Linked DNA regions of Homo sapiens: regions 1, 2, 3, 4 and 5 are each linked to region 6. The links are contacts of gene promoters, found by promoter capture Hi-C in blood cells and fetal thymus (Javierre and others, 2016). All regions are on one chromosome and are shown on one strand. The core of a region is centred on a gene start or on the middle of the fragment in contact, and the rest is flanking DNA. Distances in the headings are between cores, read along the strand shown.

The links. Contacts are between HindIII fragments. The CHiCAGO score rates a contact against its expected background, and 5 or more counts as called.
Region 1: a contact is called between a fragment that was not itself captured here and the fragment with the promoter of EID3 in region 6, in 2 of 17 cell types (M2 macrophages and total B cells). The highest score is 7.8, in M2 macrophages.
Region 2: a contact is called between a fragment that was not itself captured here and the fragment with the promoter of EID3 in region 6, in 4 of 17 cell types (total CD4 T cells, monocytes, naive CD8 T cells and 1 more). The highest score is 7.0, in total CD4 T cells.
Region 3: a contact is called between a fragment that was not itself captured here and the fragment with the promoter of EID3 in region 6, in 1 of 17 cell types (M0 macrophages). The highest score is 5.8, in M0 macrophages.
Region 4: a fragment that was not itself captured here is called in contact with the fragment with the promoter of EID3 in region 6 in 2 of 17 cell types (M0 macrophages and naive B cells); the score reaches 5.6 in M0 macrophages.
Region 5: a fragment that was not itself captured here is called in contact with the fragment with the promoter of EID3 in region 6 in 2 of 17 cell types (M0 macrophages and naive B cells); the score reaches 5.4 in M0 macrophages.

What each region holds. Positions count from the first base shown.
Region 1 is chr12:105,173,400-105,176,335 of GRCh38, reverse strand. APPL2 (adaptor protein, phosphotyrosine interacting with PH domain and leucine zipper 2) reads left to right here. Exons shown (of 21, transcript NM_018171.5): 20 at 254-301; 21 at 1,888-2,936. The coding sequence ends at 2,022. Among named protein-coding and RNA genes, the nearest start is that of APPL2, 61 kb to the left of the region's middle. The HindIII fragment of the contact is 7,746 bases long and covers 1-2,936 here.
Region 2 is chr12:105,038,697-105,041,986 of GRCh38, reverse strand. ALDH1L2 (aldehyde dehydrogenase 1 family member L2) reads left to right here. Exons shown (of 23, transcript NM_001034173.4): 16 at 1,293-1,380; 17 at 2,181-2,274. Among named protein-coding and RNA genes, the nearest start is that of ALDH1L2, 44 kb to the left of the region's middle. The HindIII fragment of the contact is 6,154 bases long and covers 1-3,290 here.
Region 3 is chr12:105,019,463-105,022,410 of GRCh38, reverse strand. It overlaps ALDH1L2 (aldehyde dehydrogenase 1 family member L2), which reads left to right. Exons shown (of 23, transcript NM_001034173.4): 23 at 1-2,621. Among named protein-coding and RNA genes, the nearest start is that of NOPCHAP1, 35 kb to the right of the region's middle. The HindIII fragment of the contact is 974 bases long and covers 1,177-2,150 here.
Region 4 is chr12:105,000,415-105,003,571 of GRCh38, reverse strand. NOPCHAP1 (NOP protein chaperone 1) reads right to left here. Exons shown (of 4, transcript NM_152318.3): 4 at 1-3,157. Among named protein-coding and RNA genes, the nearest start is that of NOPCHAP1, 16 kb to the right of the region's middle. The HindIII fragment of the contact is 1,435 bases long and covers 878-2,312 here.
Region 5 is chr12:105,064,580-105,067,659 of GRCh38, reverse strand. ALDH1L2 (aldehyde dehydrogenase 1 family member L2) reads left to right here. Exons shown (of 23, transcript NM_001034173.4): 5 at 991-1,092; 6 at 2,304-2,393. Among named protein-coding and RNA genes, the nearest start is that of ALDH1L2, 18 kb to the left of the region's middle. The HindIII fragment of the contact is 7,481 bases long and covers 1-3,080 here.
Region 6 is chr12:104,302,454-104,305,668 of GRCh38, reverse strand. It overlaps EID3 (EP300 interacting inhibitor of differentiation 3), which reads right to left and starts at 1,930. Exons shown (of 1, transcript NM_001008394.3): 1 at 464-1,930. The coding sequence starts at 1,734. The coding sequence ends at 733. The region is part of intron 4 of TXNRD1 (thioredoxin reductase 1); the gene reads right to left. RefSeq lists enhancers at 1,493-1,552, 1,583-1,822, 1,130-2,002 and a silencer at 1,863-2,092. The HindIII fragment of the contact is 794 bases long and covers 1,835-2,628 here.

The sequences.
Region 1 (2,936 bases), core at 175-2,674, 870 kb before region 6:
ACTTTTAACACTGGAATTACCTGAGTTTCACTTACCTGGAATATTTTTTGTGTGGCATAAATTGGCAACAGAGGTCAGGACAGTTGGACGCAAATGCCCCGGGCCCTATGTGATGAGTCTCCTGCAGCCAGGTCCTGTGTTCCCAAGTGGGAACAGTGAGAACAGTGACCTCACTGTACTCCCAAATCACATTTGTTCTAAAATTTTATCCTTCTCTACTTTTGCCAATCACTACTTTTCTTGTCTTTTGCAGATATGTTATGCTATTAATTTGGGAAAAGAAATTATTGAGGTTCAGAAGGTAAGATGCATTCTAGCGCTGGTTTAGTAGCTACTCAAAACACATCTGTGTACACATACCAAGAGTCTTTTCAAAAAGAAAAGTGATGTTCACTGGAAAGTGTGGCCAAGTTTGGGATTTCCTTTTAAAAGTATTCTAACCACCAGAGGTTTTTGATCAGCTAGTTCCATGTTCACTGTTAACACATGAGGACTTCTTATCACTGCTGGAGCTCCTGCTTATCTGTTTTCTTGCTTGCATACTAGTTGGCTAGATTTCCTCTTTCAGATTAAGATGATAGATAAGTACCCACCGTGTGCTGCTCTAAGGCCTTGCTCCTCAGAGTATGATCACATGCCCCACAGCATTGACAGACGTCACCTGGGAGCTTTTAAGAAATGAGGATTCTGAGACCTCCCTGTCTTTCAGCAGCTTTTAATCTTTTGTTCATTCAGCAAATTTTTGAGAGCCTAGTTTGTGTAATTGAACAAGACAGATATAGTCCCTGCCCCCAGGGGGCTTCTAGTTCAGCAATGTACAGAACTTTCTGCAATAATGGAAATGATTTATATCTGCACAATTTAATATGCAGATTGAATATGGCAAGTGTGACTGAGGAACTGGATTTTTAAATTTAACTCAAATTTACATAGTAACATGTAGCCAGTGGCTACCATATTAGTGCAGTTCAGTCTTGGAGAGGTCAGAAAGACCAAGGACTAAGGCCACATACATGAAATAGTGGCAAGCACTGTAAGCTAGTATTTAATGGTATTGGTCAAAAGTTGGCAAACTTTTTCTATAAAGGGTCTTTATGTTTTTGGCTATCTCCCTTGCAACAGATTCAACTCTGCTATCATAAGACAAAAGCAGGCCAGGCATGGTGGCTTATGCCTGTAATCCCAGCACTTTGGGAGGCAGAGGCAGGAGGATCACCTGAGGTCAGGAGTTCAAGACCAGCCTGGCCAACATGGTGAAACCCCATCTCTACTAAAAATACAAAAATTAGCCGGGTGTGGTGGTGCACACCTGTAGTCCCAGCTACTCGGGAGACTGAGGCACAAGAATCGTTTGAACCGGGGAGGCGAAGGTTGCAGTGAGCTGAGATCATACCACTGCTCTCCAGCCTGGGCGATAGAGCGAGACTCTGTCTCCAACCGCCGCACCACCCCCCCCCCCACCAAAAAAAAGCAGCAGCAGCATGGACAGTATGTAAATAAATGGCCGCAGCTGTTTTCCAATAAAAATCAAATGGTTAGCCAAATGACCATAGTTTGCCAACTTCTGGTATAGATTAAACGTGAGAAAAGAAGGAGTTTAAAGATAGAGAAGACAAAAGTTCTGTGAAGGAAGTTCCTCTGTGGAATCTTTGGGAAGATGATACGAATTGACTACGTAAACAATATTTTGGCTCAGAGGAAAACAGTCTAGATTCTAGAAGTGACATGCCTGAGTTTGAGAAGCAAGGAGACTCAGCGGAAGGCACATATACACAAGAGTCAGGAGAAACAAGACTAGATTACAGAACATATTGAAAGCCAGGCCAAAGGGGTTTAAATGCATCTTAAGCCTTTTCTTTTTTCCCTTTTAAACTCTCCTAACTTCAGGATCCAGAAGCACTGGCTCAATTAATGCTGTCCATACCACTAACCAATGACGGAAAATATGTACTGTTAAACGATCAACCAGATGACGATGATGGAAATCCAAACGAACATAGAGGCGCAGAATCCGAAGCATAACTCACTTGCGCCTGTGGGGGAAGAGCAAACAGGAAGGAGAGCTACCTCCTAAGGGTTTTAACGTCTCTGACATACAGGCACACTGACCTGATTTCCGAAGGCTGACAATCGTTTGTGGAATGTAATCTTGATGCCTTGATACTGAGACTTGGGAGGGAAACTAAGAAATGGTTGACAGCGTTCCCACCCATCTACAATGTTATTTTAGGTGCTTTGTGGTAAGTCTTTTTTCTTAGATTGCGCTAAAATTTCTTAGATTGTTCAGCGCTCAGAACAAAAGTTTGAAAAATGCATTGTTCATATGAATGTCATCTCTTTTCAGTTTCCAGTATCCTTTTTAAAAAATGGCAAAAGCCTAGATTTACAATTTGATGAACACTAAATATTTCTTATTAATATAATCTATTTTTGTATTTTACTTAATGAGCTTTAAGTGCCTGTCGTTCTGAAAATTGTGTATTTATAATTCAGCTTATCTCATAATTGGACCTAATAGCATTTCTTTGTGCAGTTAGGTGATGAGCACTGCTTTGAGGCCCAAGCACTAGTAGAGATGCGCGATACAGGTCTAGTTTCGGTAACTGTTCCAGACATCAAGCAATAAAAAAATGAATACCACAAAAGATGTTTGATTTTACAGTGGAGCCTTACTGAACCAGCATTCAGAAGTTTAAGGTCCTCCTAGGTATGAGTATTTTTAGTAGTGGATCACTGTGGACAGGGTGCAGCTCTACCAGTTCCTGTTTCTTCTGAGCCAGACCCTCTTCAGGGAAGGGACCAATTAATTTTAAAACTCACTTGAAGCACAGCTGGTCATGGGGCTTGGTATAAAGTTCCTATTTCCACCCTGATACTTCCAATTCCTGGAACCCCAGCCCACTCCCCCATCCCTCCTCCCTATCAAACTAGTATAA
Region 2 (3,290 bases), core at 527-3,026, 740 kb before region 6:
TACCATTCTTCACTCAAAGAAACTTGGGCTCCTTGGAGAAGTAGCTGGAGTAGGGAAGAATCAAGATGAATCTGAAATATCTTGTTGGGCCTGAAAGCAATGTAATGCTCAAAGTAATAGGGGCACGTCAGAATGATAAGGGGCCGTACTGAAGGGACTGCCTCAGCCAAATCTAGAACAATTGAACATCAAAATCAGTAACAATAGTAAACGATGATAACCTGCTGATTACAGTAAGAATCTTTGTGTTCACACTGATATTAATTAATTGAACAGAATGGAAAACACTTAGAGTAGAGAGCCAACTACTACACGTAAAAGGAATGAGGGAATTGGAAAATCACCATTTGGCAACCATCATGATACTTTAGGATTATTATCCAGAAATTATCCATGGACACTAAAACTAGTGGATAAAAATTTGAGGAGTATCTCCCCACAAAATATTTGTTAACTACAATGTATAAAATAGTAATTTACAGTGATGAAAGTTGGCAGACCACATTTGCCAAATAATCAAAACTAACTTTCCAGTATTGGAACTATTCTACAGCACGTGCCTCCTGATGTCCTGAGAAAAGCTCAGCATCGCTCCGGTGGCATTGTTCCCAAAAGTGCATAACTTGAATCTAACCATGCAAAAACATCAGACAAATCCAGACAAAGAGACATTGTATGAAATAACTGGCCTGTACTCTTCAAAAATGTCAGTGTAATGAAATAGAAAAGAGAACTGAGAAATTCTCCTAGATTACTGGAGACTACAGATAGAACTAAATGTAATGCAGATGTTGGATTTTCTTTTGCTGTAAGACATTATTGGGATAATTGGTGAAATCTGAATATGGTCTGCAAATCATGTATTCTATCAATTGTTAATCTCCTGATTTTGATGATTGTACTATGGTTATGTAAAAGAATTTCTTGTTTTATAGAAAATGCACACAGAAGTATTTAGAAGTATGGGGTATGTCTTTACCGTATTCTTAAACAGTTCAGAAACAGATATTCCTTAAATTTATCTTTAAAAAATAGTTTAGAAAAATATATACAGAAAGATAAAGCAAATGCAGTAAAATGTTAACATTTGAGGAATCTGAATGGAAATGTATATAAGGAATACTTGTACTATTTTTGCATCTTTTTGTAAGTCTGAAATTATGGCAAAAAAATAAGACAATGTACAATAAAAATAAAATGAGATCTAGTGCAGCTATCAAGGGAAAACTGGGTTCTGGGCTAAAGGTCAGGTTAGGGCCTGAAGAAGGTAATTGCTGTTTGCTTCTCCTCAGGTCACGCCCTTGACTGCTTTGAAGTTTGCAGAACTGTCTGTGAAAGCAGGCTTTCCAAAGGGGGTCATCAACATCATTCCAGGCTCAGGTAAGCCACTAAATGACCGACTGTGCTATAACTAATGAATGGTACTGGGGTAGCTGAGTGGCTCTTTTACCTCTAGAGACTTGTCCTGAATTATAACTGTATTAAAACTAAATACAATTCACCAAACAGTTAAGGATGAATATACTTACCATGTGCTAAAATCTTAAAATGGAAATACAGTGGTGGGTGAGTGGCAGTGGGGAGGGGGGTTGTACAGTCATGTAAAATTACCCTAAGATGTTCCATTTTGATTTTCAAAAACTACTCTGGAAGATAAAAATCAAGGCTTACCCATCATTATTTTGGGAGTCTGATAATTTCATAAAGGGTATTATTTCAGACTTTTATCAGTTTGTAATTAATACAGAAAATGTAAAACTAAGGTGTCAAGGAGAGCTTAGAAATCTACTTCAATGAATTTAAAGCCATCTTCACTATAAGAATTTGAGTAAGGTTTTTTTTTTTTTTTTTTTTTTTTTTTGAGACGGAGTCTCACTCTGTTGCCCCGGCTGGAGTGCAAAGGCGCGATCTTGGCCCACTGCAACCTCCGCCTCCTGGGTTCAAGTGATTCTCTCTCAGCCTCCTGAGTAGCTGGGATTACAGGCGTGTGCCACCATGCCTGGCTAATTTTTATATTTTTAGTAGTGACAGGGTTTCACCATGGTGGTCAGGCGGGTCTCGATCTCCTGACCTTGTGATCTGCTTGCCTCAGCCTCCCAAAGTGCGGGGATTACAGGCGTAAGCCACCGCGCCCGGCCTTGAGTATGTTTTAATTCCCGTTTTATTCCCTAATTCTACAGGTGGCATAGCAGGACAACGTCTGTCTGAACATCCTGACATCCGCAAACTTGGTTTCACTGGATCCACTCCTATTGGCAAACAGATCATGAAGAGGTATTGGTTTTAAAATGTTGATTCACTGCAGATCCTGTTAAACTAGGTTTCAATTTTTGTTTAAACAGGGTACTTTTTGAGTGAGAAAAACTACATCAACTTTGGAAGGGAAATCTACTTATCACTGCTGAGTATTGAAATATTTGAATACAATAAAATACTTTCCAAAGCATTAAAGCCCAGAGTCAATAAAACCAAAGCTATGTTGAAATTCTGTGCCCTACTGGTAGTTTTAACAATTCAGCACAAAAGACTTCCTGTATTAAAGCTGTGGCCCAAATTGTTCTCAGAGTATGGGTAAAAAACCAAAAAGATACATAAATGTGAAATTTATATATTTTATATGACAAACCTGGATTATTTATAAATGGAGTCCGCCAAAGCAATTTTTTTTTAAGCTGTAAGCAATCTAAATGTCCAAAATAAAGCAGTTGTTAAAATATGTCAATGTAATGGAACACTGTGCAGTCATGTTCATAGAGAATTTTAATAACATTGAAAAGTGTTGTTAAAATAATAAATGGAAATAAAAATAAAGTATAACATTGTATACACTGGATGATCTCAACTATGTTAAACAACGCAAAAGCTATGGTAGGACAGATCACAAATAGGTAGTATATCAAAATGGTAAAAACAATGGTCACTGAGGCATGGAATGGAATTTTGTGATTTTTTTCTTCTGTTTGCATTTTGGGGTAGGTATTTTCAAAATGCTTTAAATAAAAATACTTTTGTAAGAAAGGAAAAATAAGCAGCGTACTTTTAAAAATTGATATTTTTTCTCCCAATGCTTCGGTAGTCTGGTTAGAGGTTTAATTCTTTTGCCAGGCTTTTATGTAACCAAAATTTCTAAAGAATTTGAATTAACTTTTGACCACAACATTTTTGAAATTTTTTTATTATGGAAAATGTCTAATACATAGAAAGCAGAAAAGCAAAATGAATTTTATGTACTCATCACTCAGCTTCAATGGTAATCACCATTCTACCATCTGTTTTATCTATGAATAACT
Region 3 (2,948 bases), core at 414-2,913, 720 kb before region 6:
CTGGGCTGCAAAACTCTTTGGGAATCTGATAAAAGCTATGAACACTCCCTGTGTCCCGCTTCTACCCCCAAAATTCATGTGCACACACACAATTCTGCAAGTATCTTCAAAGGGTTCACAGACCTCCCAAAGGCCATGCTTGGGCCCCAGATTAAGAACTCCTTTCTCCATAGCAAGTTTTAAACATTTCTTACCAGCTTACATTTTTAGATCTGGCTGATCAGAATCAAAGGCTCTGTGTAATACATAAAGTTACCAAGTGAACTGGAATTGGAACATCACCCTCCCCAGCCTGCTAGGTGATTTACTTAACACATAGAGTAATAAAATCATCGCTGTTGCTTTAGATCACGGATTATTTTGCTAATAATGCTAAGGATGAAGCTGTGATCTTATTATCACCTGAATCGGGAGGTGTGGACACTTTAAGCAGTTCCACTTTCCTTCTAATTCCCCATCCCCATGCCTTTGCTAAAGCTGTCCCTTTTGCTCTAACACCCTTCCTGGACCTTCCTACCCTAGCTGGGCTAAGTGTTTCTCCTCAGCGTTCCCACTTGTTTCAAACATAGCACTTACCACTTGTACTAAAATTACTTGCCTTCTTAATTAGATATGAACAACCCTCCCCAACTCCAGTATGGGCCTTCTGTCAATAATAATACGATATGACAGCTACCATTTATTAAGGGCCTCCTGTATGAAAGACCTTAGGCTAAGCATGTTTTAAATGTTATTTAATCTTCACAATCTCTGAAAAAAATGAAGAAATCAACGTGCTTTTCTTACTACCTCTACCCCTAAGCCATTATTACTTTTTTTTTTTTTTGAGACAGAGTTTTGCTCTTGTTGCCCAGGCTGCAGTGCAGTGGTGCAATCTTGGCTCACTGCAACCTCTGCCTCTTGGGTTCAAGCGATTGTCATGCCTTAGCCTTCCAAGTAGCTGGGATTACAGGTGTGTGCCACTACACCTGGCTAAGTAGAGATGGGGTTTCGCCATGTTGGCCAGGCTGGTCTTGAACTCCTGACCTCAAGTGATCCACCTGCCTCCGCCTCCCAAAGTGCTGGGATTACAGGCATGAACCACTGCACCTGGCCTGTTACCTCTTTCCTACAATTTTGCTCAAGTCTCCCAACTGGTCTTCTGGATTCCTCTCTTCTGCGGTCCTGTTCAAAGCTTAAGTCAGACAGTGTCACTTCACTCGTCTGTTTAAAACCTTTCAATGGCCCCCATTTCACGTAGACCAAAGTCCAACGTATTTACCTGGCCTACTGATCTTGCTCCTAGCTACCTCTGACCTCATCTCCTGTCAATTTCCCTCTCATTCTGTTCCACCATCCTGACTGCCTTGACTTCCTCAACAGAACAAGCCTGCTCCTGCCTCAGGGCCTCTGTCCTTATTCTTCCTCTTCCCAGGGGTGTGCTGGTAAAATATTTAACAAATAGTTCTCCGGGACGGGGGAGAAAACCCTCATTTGTAGCATTTGCAGGTATCTATGTGTAAATACTCTCATCAAGGCTATTTTTGAGCCACTAATTTGCCTTCACTGAATACAGAGTTTGGGAAGAGATGCATGCCATCAGAACAAATGCAAGCCAGCACCAGCACACCACTGCCTCTTCCTGCAACTCTTGTCCATACACAACCTCATGGCTGGCTGGCTCACTTCCTGCAGGTCTCTCCTCAAATATCATCTGATGAGAGACACATTCCCTGACTATGCTTTCTAAAATAGGCCATATGCCCCCACATTCATACCCCATCTGCTGTCATTCTTTATTCTTTTTATAAGTGCATTATTTTCATAGCACTTATCACTACCTGTTGTATATTAATCAATGATCTTTTCCCATTAGAATGTAAGTTTCATGAACAGGTACTTGTTTTAATACTGTATCTCCAGTCCTAATGTGTAACAGGAGCCCAATAAATGTTTGCTTTCAAATGGAGAGGTTAAGTAACCTGCTCAAATCACACAGCTATTAAGTGGCAGAACAGGTTTTCAAGCAATGCATCTGGTGGTTTTAACTAAGTCGAGATAGTTTTTATTCCTAATGCCTAAATCAGGGCCTAGGTAGTGAGCTGTGGGCACATATTAAGTATTGGTTAAACTAAAAATAATAAGCAAAATGGACATTATCTATAAAAGCTTTTGTGGAAATGGCTAGAGCTAGGGTAAGGAAACAAATTTGGTTCCCCATACCTGCCCTCCAAGAAAATAAAGCTGTCAAGGAAAATCTGGGCTAAGAGTAGGATATGAGGGATGATGGATAAGGCATGAGACATGAGAAATAAGGGGGATTAAATTATTATTACTATTATACAAATGATGCCTGAGTAGATTTTTAAAATGATTAAATACCCAATGATGTAAAAAACATTTATAAAATAGGAAAGTAAGACTGACTCAACCATAATTTGTTGAGTCAACCCAAAAATCTATTTGGTTATTTTCAAACAGAAATAGCCTACAGATGATATCTGAGATTGTTCCAAACTTTTTCTATGAATATGTATACTTTTTTTACATAATTAACATAATACTGTATATTAATTTGTTACCTGCTTTTTCAATTAACAATATATCATAAGCATCTATGCCAATAAACACAATTCTGCATATTTCAATGGCTTTAATTCAACATGTTGTCTATCGTCGGACATTTAGATTTGCTTTTTGCTATTTTAAATGTCACAAAAAATCTTATATAAAATTTATGACCAAAGCTACACTTATGTAATTAGAACAAATACCTGGAAGTGGAATTCCTGAATCAATAATCCCACCAACAATTTTCCCACATCTTTGCCAACATTGTGTATTACAAGTTATGCAATTAGTATCTCTATGCCAATTTTCTCAGCTGTGAAGTGAATATAAGCATATCTCACAAGGTGATAGGCTTTTTTGAAAAAAAAATAAGGAAATTTATTCTGCCACCAAAAACA
Region 4 (3,157 bases), core at 346-2,845, 700 kb before region 6:
TGCTGGGTCTATTGTAACCATTCCTCTCTCACAGCAACTGGAGGTTGTGTGTGATTTCCCTTTCAGATTAAAGCTACACAGATTTGTGTTTTGAGCTCTCCAAATTTACTTGAACAATTCTTTTACCAAACAGGGTCCAGAGACTGGGTCCAGTAGAAGGCCTATGATAAGTCACAAGAAGACAGGGAATCATGAGTTCATCTGGATCCATGGAGTCTAGAACTCCTCCATCTGGAACTATAGCCAATTTCGTGTATAAGAACTACAGACTCAGGGCATGTTGCTTTTCTAGAAAAATGAAACTCACACACACACAAAAAAAATTAGAATTCCAGTGGCCCACAGTGGGAAAGTTTTAACCTACATAAACTTGTTCACTTGCAAGGCACACTACAAAAGAAAGAATCCAAAATGCTTCATAAGCAATGAGATGCATTCTTTAAATTGGTACATACAGGTAGTAAAAGATTCCTTACAGAAGGCAAATGAAAACCTTAAGTAGCTTAAGGATGATACAAAAAAAGACTGTATCTTGACTGATTCAAACCTGTTTTGTTCTTTCTCTTTACCCATCTTTACCTCAATACTCTGAGTCTAATAACCTTTTTGCTCAACTACTCTTTCATTCTAAAGATAATGAGAAAAGGCAAGTTAGACAAATGCCTTACAAAATGGGATTCTCTGATCAGCCAGGCCTGCCTGCCATAACCACCTTTACTCCATGGTCAAAAATTAAGCTTCCAGACACGGTAAAAGACTTCCCTAGCCCAGGGAAAACACTCAAAAATGTACTGAAGATTTTAGAATTTGCACAGGAGCTTACAAGCCAGGACTCTCTGACCAATTTATTCATATGATACTGGGACATGGCAAAGCTTGAAAATGTATGACAAGAGAATGGGAAAAACTTAATCAGGATATTAAAGACTCCCCCAAAACCTCATCAAGAGTAGGGCCAATGAGACCTAGAAAAATTGTTGAAAACCTTTAAAATTCAATTCCTAAGATTTTGCTACAAAAAATTGATTGGTCCATCATACAATCTCATAGACAAAAAATAGAATGAACCAGTTTCAGATTACAGGGTCCATTCAGAAAGACTATTTGTAAAACATTCCAGGTTCCAATACACCAAGGGATACTTCTGGCAGTGCCTGAAACAGGATTAACTGCTCTATTTGTAAATGGAGCTCATCCTGAACTTAGTAACCTGAATAAAAAACACAAACCAGGATGGGAGGTTATAGATATGATTGAATTGGTGGCCCTAGCCCAACATTTTGAGAGAATAGAGTAAGTAAAAGACTAAAGGTCGAAAAGCTCATGTCTCTCTAATTACAATAACCACAAAGACCAAGACCAAAGGGACTTCCTCTCCCTTATTTTAAGCTAAAACCAAGAGATCTTAGACCAAGAAATTATTTGCCCTAAGGTGTCTCCCTTCATTGCAAACAACTAGGATGCTGGAAAAGAGATTTTGCATTCTTATTTCAGTATACCAGTAAGCCTCCTTCCTTGGGGCCATACTATTTCCCCACTAGAATGAGTCCACAAGGTCTTAACTCTAGAGATAATAATCAACATTGATGAGCATCCAAGGAATTCTCCAGAAAACTGCTCCCCATAATACCTTTAAATAAACATGGATAAACAGCAACTCAAAGTACTATTAAAAAAAGAAAAGAAATAAACATGGAAAAACAAAAGTTAAAACAAATGAAAAATCTTATACAATTCTGGTGGATACTAGAGCCACTTTCATCTACTATAAACTCTACCTTAATAAGCTAATACATCCCTCAGAGTAAAAATGTTTACTCTGTGGAAACATTATTTCTGTGGTAGGGTTTCAAATCAAGTTGAAAAGGTTCCCATACTGGAAGCCATCCAACTGACACTGGTGTCATTTACAGAAAATCATACTTTTTAATTATGTGATACTGCCCCAGTAAATCTGCTGGGGCAAGACTTGCTCTCCAAGGCAAAAGGGCATATAAAATTCTCTTTCAGAGGGACAAATAATCTTAGAGTTTCCTGACTCTCCTGAACCAGAACTGTTATGCTCTCTAAAGGCAGAAATTGAAAAAATATTGGTGGGATGACTATTCTAAAATTGCTAAAATGGCTTATAACTAATGTTTGGTTTATCAAGCTCATAATCCTGGAAAGATAATCCAAATTTTAGGTGGTACATTTCTACTGCCTCCTGGACCATTTGAATGTTTACAGATGGATTTCATCAATTGCCACCCTTAATGGGATAACAATATGTTCTTATAAAAGTCTTTGTGTTCTCTAGACGGATAGAAGCTTTATCATGTAGGAAGGCCAATGCTATGACAATAAGTTATTAGAAAGTATGTTTCCTTCTGGGGCTTCCCTGGAGGAATTTCCAGCAATAGAAGAACCTGTTTCACTGGACAAGTTATAAAACAGCTAAAACAGTTAATCGAACACAATGGTATTACCATCATCCCTAACACCCTTAATCTTCTGGAAAGCTCAAAAGAACAAATGAAACTTTAAACTGAAATTGGTAAAGTTAACTGAATTGATTGAATTGCCTCGTCCAAAGGTATTACCATTGGCCTTATGGGCAACTAGATCCACCCCAACAGAAAATACAAAATAAATTAGTTTCTTATGAAATAGTTACTGAAAAACCTATGCCCCTAATAATTAAACCTCATATATCTCCTGCTCCTGTAAACTGACATGACTAAATACTGCAAGGCCTTAATGTATTATGCCAAAGTATATTTTCACCAGGTTAAAAAAAAAGCCTTTCACGATCTATCAATGGAGGACAACCAAGCATTTCACAATCTGGAACATGGAGATTGGGTCTTCTGAAAACAACATCAGTGAAACACTGCCCTCAAACCCCTATGGAAGGGACCATACCAAATTCTTACCATCCACACTGCAGCAAAAGTTCAGACCCTCAAGACTTTTGCTGCAGTATGGGTGGTAAGAATTTGATCATGGATCAAGAGTTCTCTTCTCTGTCATCATGATAACTATGTCCCTTTTCTTTTTCCCTTATTTCCTATTGTCTTAATCTTTCCTTTTCCTTACAGGAAAATCCATAGGACCATAATTTGCAATGGCTTTAGGTAAGGCTCATGCTCTAGCAGAAAAAACAGAGCAACTGTTT
Region 5 (3,080 bases), core at 251-2,750, 760 kb before region 6:
CTCACGTGGGCCTCGCAGTGAAAATGGGAGGCTCTCGACTCAAGGCAAACGTAAATATAACAGAGAAGAAAATGCAGGACACCTCCCAAAGGCAATCAAGCTCATGGATAGATTTTAACTTTTTTTATTCCAGGTCTCCTAAACTAGAAAGCAAGTTGAATTCATTAAATACAGTAAGGTATCATTTTTTAGAATCATCATGATGAGTAAAATAACTCATAAAGACTTATTTTATCATTATATTCCTATCATTTCCAGTGAATCACTAAGGGAGGTGGCAGTTTGTTTAAACAAGGGAGTCATTTTTGAGAGTGCAGACTTCGATTGGCAATAGATAGACCTGGATACAAATCCTGTTTCTGACACCTACAAGCTCTCTCTGTGATCTTCAGCCAATTGCTTAGCTCTTTTTCTTTTTCTTTTCTTTTTTTTTTTTTTTTTTTTGAGACAGAGTCTCGCTCTGTCGCCCAGGCTGGAGTGCAGTGGTGTGATCTCGGCTCACTGCAAGCTCTGCCTCCCGGGTTCACGCCATTCTCCTGCCTCAGCCTCCTGAGTAGCTGGGACTACAGGCGCCCACCACCACGCCCGGCTGATTTTTTGTATTTTTAGTAGAGACGGGGTTTCACCGTGGCCTCGATCTCCTGACTTCGTGATCCGCCTGCCTTGGCCTCCCAAAGTGCTGGGATTACAGGCGTGAGCCACTGCGCCCGGCCTTGCTTAGCTCTTTTTCTGTCAGTTTCCTCAGGTGTAAAACAGGAATAACAATATACACCTTGCAGGATTTGTGTTATGTTTTCAAGGGATATTTTACATAAAGTAGCTACCACACTGCTTGTCAGGATGGACCTGAAGAAATGGTAGTTATCATCATACTCTTGACTCTCTGAACAGGTTTATAGGTAGTAATTCTGTTATGCAGAAACTTTAGTCAAATAGACCATGCCATTGTTGATCATTGGGCTGTAACACAGGTGATGTCTTTGGCCTTAGGTAGAAGCTGTCCAACTCATAGCTGATGGAAAAGCTCCTCGTATACCCCAGCCAGAAGAAGGGGCAACATATGAAGGTATCCAGAAAAAGGAAAATGCTGAGGTATTTATATATCAACTCAATAACACGTCTCAGAGTTCATGGCCCTCTACCCTTCAGTAGTTCCCCACATACTATGATCTTGCCAAAAGGTAAGCCAGCTTGCCCTAGCCCTACCTGTTAGAGTAGACAGGTAGCCAGACATACGCAGGAGAGGGGAGTCCCCTAAAGAAAATAAAGTCTAGGAAGACTCGTGTCTGGAAGACCACTCAAAATTTGCATATTAATAGTATCTCTAATGCTGGAGTGGGTGGGCACTTAGTCAAATGTGCATAGAAAGGAGAGGAGATACTATGCAAACAAACAAACAAACAAGCAAATAAAAAATGCCCAGAAACGCCTCTTCAGTCTGCCCAACAATCCTTCGCTCTGCAGTTAAAATGTCAAAATATCACTAGCTACATGCTAATGAAAAGGGCAAAGGGGATATTCCTTAAAAAATCTGGCATGCTAGGTGCGCTGGGCACAGTGGCTCATGCCTGTAATCCCAGCACTTTGGGAGGCTGAGGGAGGAGGATCACTTGAGACCAGGCATTCGAGACCAGCCTGGCCAACACAGTGAGACCCCTGTCTCAAAAAACAAAAAACAAAAACCTGGAGCCATAAGTTCAGCTTAGGGCAGAGAAGGAAATTCCAAAAAAACACACAGATGCAGTAGGTATAGATTTGGCCACTATACAACCTCCCTGCAGTGACAATAGTAAACAACACAGGCATCAGGTAATATTCATATCCAACACCAATCCACACATACACACCAACTAATAATATGGAGGGTCCCATAAACCTGAGACAAAATCTAGGTGCGGACAAAGCAGAGAGCTAAGACAGACACAAACAAACTAGACAAAAAAAAAAAGAGGCAGAGACTTAACAGAGGTGGGAACTTCAAAAAAAAGTTCAACCTAATAAAAACCCAACATAAAACTCTCCAACAGCTACTGGCCTACTCCCCTCAACAGCCCGCTCTACTTCATCTTTACAAAGCATACTGTCCCTTTAAATAACCCTCTGCTTTTTATTTTCCTTTAATAAAGTCTCTTGTTTACTAAATCAGCCACCTGACAAAATACTTACTCCAAATAAAACTAAGAAGCAAAAATTCCTTTATTTCCCAATAACAAGTGTTTCTGCCTCTGATGACGAGAAGCGTTTTTATTGCCTTTGAGGTTCACAGCCATAGGAGGCTCAGCCTGTATTTTGTGCCTTCCTAGATTTCTTGGGACCAGTCTGCCGAAGTTTTACATAACTGGATTCGAGGTCATGATAAAGTCCCTGGAGCTTGGACAGAGATAAATGGACAGGTATGTTTTAGGGACCACTCCCCCCACCCCCCTCCCCGATTATTACCTTTGTAAGAGATATTACAGATAAATCTGGGCTTCCCATGGTTCTTCCTTGGTCATGAGGCAGGTCTGTGATTCACTCTCCCCTTTACTCAGCATGTATTAAGCATTTATTGTGCAGCAGACACTAAATCCAGCGCCTGATCTAAGGAGCCTGCAGTTTTATGGGGAGTGCAGAGAAGTGAATAAACATTCTCAGTGCAGTAAGATAAACGCTATCATGGAGGCTGAGACTCAGGCATGTTAGGAAAGGCTTCCTAGAAAAGCTCACTGCTTTGCTCGAGAAGAGTTAACCAGGTTGAGAGCAAGACAAGTAGGTGAAGCCCCAGAGATAAGAGACTCCAGCACCTGGTCAAGGACTTGCAAAAGGAGTTCAGTGAAGCCAGGGTCTGAACTGTGAGGACAGGCATGGGGAGAGCTGAGGCGGGAGAGGCGGGCAGGGCCTGAAGGGTCTTCTATCCATGGGTAATTGACTCAGCCCAGGCTCTCAGGTTTCACCTCTTCGGGGAGGTTTCCTGATCTCACATGCCCAGACTGGCAGGGTCTGATGGCCCATCTCTGGGTTCCAGCAACACTCTGCCTACCTCTGGCATCGCACATCATATATTGTGAGGGTCTCTTTATTCCCCCCAACACTAGACTGTG
Region 6 (3,215 bases), core at 681-3,180:
AGCTTATCAAATATAATAGTTTTTCCATAAATCTAATGGTCCTCTCGTGCCTAACTTCTAACAATTCCATGCATTTGACCTTGCTATTCTCTTGCCTAGAATGCCTTTTCCTTCTTCGTGTTTCTACTCACCTTTCACCCTTAGCTGATACCTCAACTACTACAGCAGAGACACTACTTTTGCTGAGTACAATAACAGAAATTGTTTAGAATATGGATACTCACTCATAAATCCTAAGTCTTCCTTGCAATGACTTTTTTAGTCTTAATGTTGCATATTCACTGCCTTACAGACAGGTTTTTTTTTTTAACTTTTGTTTTTTACCCACTCTTTGCCCAACCTGGTTAGGAACCCTTTCTGGGATTCTCTTGGTTCCCTATGACAGAGAAAGCAACGCATCACAGAGCATCATCACTGATTTTCGTAAATTATTATGTTTTGCAAATTATCAAATATCCCTTAATTTGGTATCCAAAACTTGTTTTTATTAATAGTCTTAAAGGGCATTCAATAAAACGTTCCCATAAATATGCCAGTGAATTTGTTTTAATAACAGAAGATCATGACCTTATAAATTACTAAGAAAAATATGCTGCACAGTAAAACAATGTCTGATGTTCTTGAAAATACTTTTTCACTTTACAAGAGATACAATATGTGCTTCAGTTTACATTTTACTCTCCATCTAACTTCAGAAAAAAAACACAAAAAGGATGCTATACTAAGAAATCTTTAGTATGAGGAGTATGTAATCATAGCCTCAGAAATTTCAAAAGCTGCCACAATGTTTTTCCACTCCTGTAAAGTCAAAGATATAACTCCCTGTTTCCTGCCATGGCAACTGGAATCATTTCCCTCACCCATTTGGTTAACATTCATCGGCTCTAATATTGGCAGCCTGTCTTCATCAAGCCTTATTCTTGCAAAACCATCTCTTACAATAAAAGAAACATAAAATATATTCTCCACAGTACGAGAAAAAGAGTTTGGATCAATCACAAACTCAAAATAGGACACAGGAGTATCAGGATACTTTCGAAAGTAGGTTTGCAACAATCCCAAAATCCTTTCTACGTTTTTTTCTGTCGCTTCTGGATAACTACTCAGGTCCAACTTCTGCAACTTTGTAGGCATGTTGCCATTTTCTTCCATCTTGCGAACTTTTTTCTGGTGTTCAAGTCGGGGCTTTGGTGCAGAACGTTCTAGCTTGAATGAACCAAAAACAAAATGGAATGTCTCAGCTTTTACCATCCAGGATGTTGCTTCCTTTTCTATTGCCTTCCAGAAGGAAAGAGCTATGCTATCATCACAATCACTCAACTTGTCAGGATCGCCTTCCATCCAATTCAGACCCACGAACAGAAACAGAAAGTCACAAAATGCTAACTGATTAAAGAAGTTCATATCTGAGTTTAACTGCTTTGCCTTTTCTTTACCCAAATCAGAAGCCATAACAAGAAACCGGGCGTCGAGGGCTGCTTCTCTGGTTCGGCTCACGCCATCAAAGAGGACGTTGGCTTCCTCCAGAGCCTCGGTTAAGGAGTTGTTCGCCGAGCTCACGATGTCCTCCCGGTTCTGCCGCACGCAGTACATGAGCTGCCGGTACTGCCTGCGGATGCTGCGGCACTTCTCCTCGTCAGCGGTGAGCTCCAGGAGCTTTGGGTCTACGTCGGCCTCCCCAGAGCTGAGGTCGTCGGAGCAGCCCGCGGCCCTCACTGACACATCCATCTTCATCAGCGCTCCCTCCGCCGCCGCCTACTTCGCCGCGTACTCGCTACCGGGGATGATCACGAGCTGCTCCTCTCCTTTCTCTTCGTCTCCCTTCCGGGAAGCTTTTTCAACCAACATGCCGGCCACGGGTATCTCTGAGGTAACGGCCCTCCCAGCGTGTGGAAAGTGGCGGCAGTTAGAGCCGAGGACGCCCGCCCATGCGCACTAGCGGCCCGGCCCGGCGCGACCCGCCCCCAGCACGCTCCGCGGGAAGACAGCCCCGCCCCGGCCCGGCCCAGCCACAAGCCGAGGCGCTCGCTCATAGACCAGCGCGGCGCTCCCAACACGCGCAATGATGGGCCCTGACCTCACACGCGACTAATGCCCGCTCAGGGGACAGCTATTCTTTTTCAAAGCGTTTACCGACTGGATCACCTCACTTTAAAAAAAAACACTTTTGGACAACTTTACACAAAACTATTGAGGAGACTAAAGGTCCTGCGCTTTAAAACGCTCGCTGCCATCATATACTGCAGTGAGGTCGACCTGGTTTTGGTTTTTTGTGAACTAAATCTGGCTGGACTGTAAACCGTCGGTAAGGCCAAGGACCGTGAAAAGCAGAAACTCCATTAAGCAGGCTAAACTCTCAGTTCTTTTGCAAGGTGGTGTTTGGACTCATTATACAAATGTAAATCGGGTTAATTACTTTCACATGTCCTCTTAAAAACCAAGCCCCCTCCAATACCCATCCTGAGTATCTGTGGGATCGGGGGAGCCTCCAATATCCGTGCTAACCCCTGCAGGAAACTGGGTGCTGGGCACGGGCATTACTCAGGTGAACTTTGGTTCTCCACTACCCAGGAGTGGAAGAATAGAATGGGTAGAGATCTCTGCAAAAGAGCTATTTACTTGGAAGCTTGCCAACAGCTAAAGGCCACCGACACTGAATGGGTAGTAACTCTGAACCCTAAAAGGTGGGCAAAGCTATGAAAATTTCAGATACAGTCTAAGGATATGAAAGCTTAATCTGTAAACTGGGTGAGTAATCTGCGTGGGAAAATTTACCCATTGGATTTAATGGGGTCACTGGAAACTCAAGTGCAGTTAAAGACGTGACTCCTTATCTGTCTCACCAGCAGCAAATAGCAAAGTATACATAACAATGGGAATGGCCGGGCGCGGTGGCTCACGCCTGCAATCCCAGCACTTTGGGAGGCCGAGGCGGGCGGATCACGAGGTCAGGAGATCGAGACCATCTTGGCTAACCCGGTGAAACCCCGTCTCTACTAAAACTACAAAAAATTAGCCGGGCGCGGTGGCAGGCGCCTATAGTCCCAGCTACTCGGTAGGCTGAGGCAGAAGAATGGCGTGAACCCAGGAGGCGGAGTTTGCAGTGAGCCGAGATCGGGCCACTGCACTCCAGCCTGGGCTATAGAGCGAGACTCCGTCTCAAAAAAAAAAAAAAAAAAAAAGGGAATGAATACATCTGGTTTTTAAAGAGAACA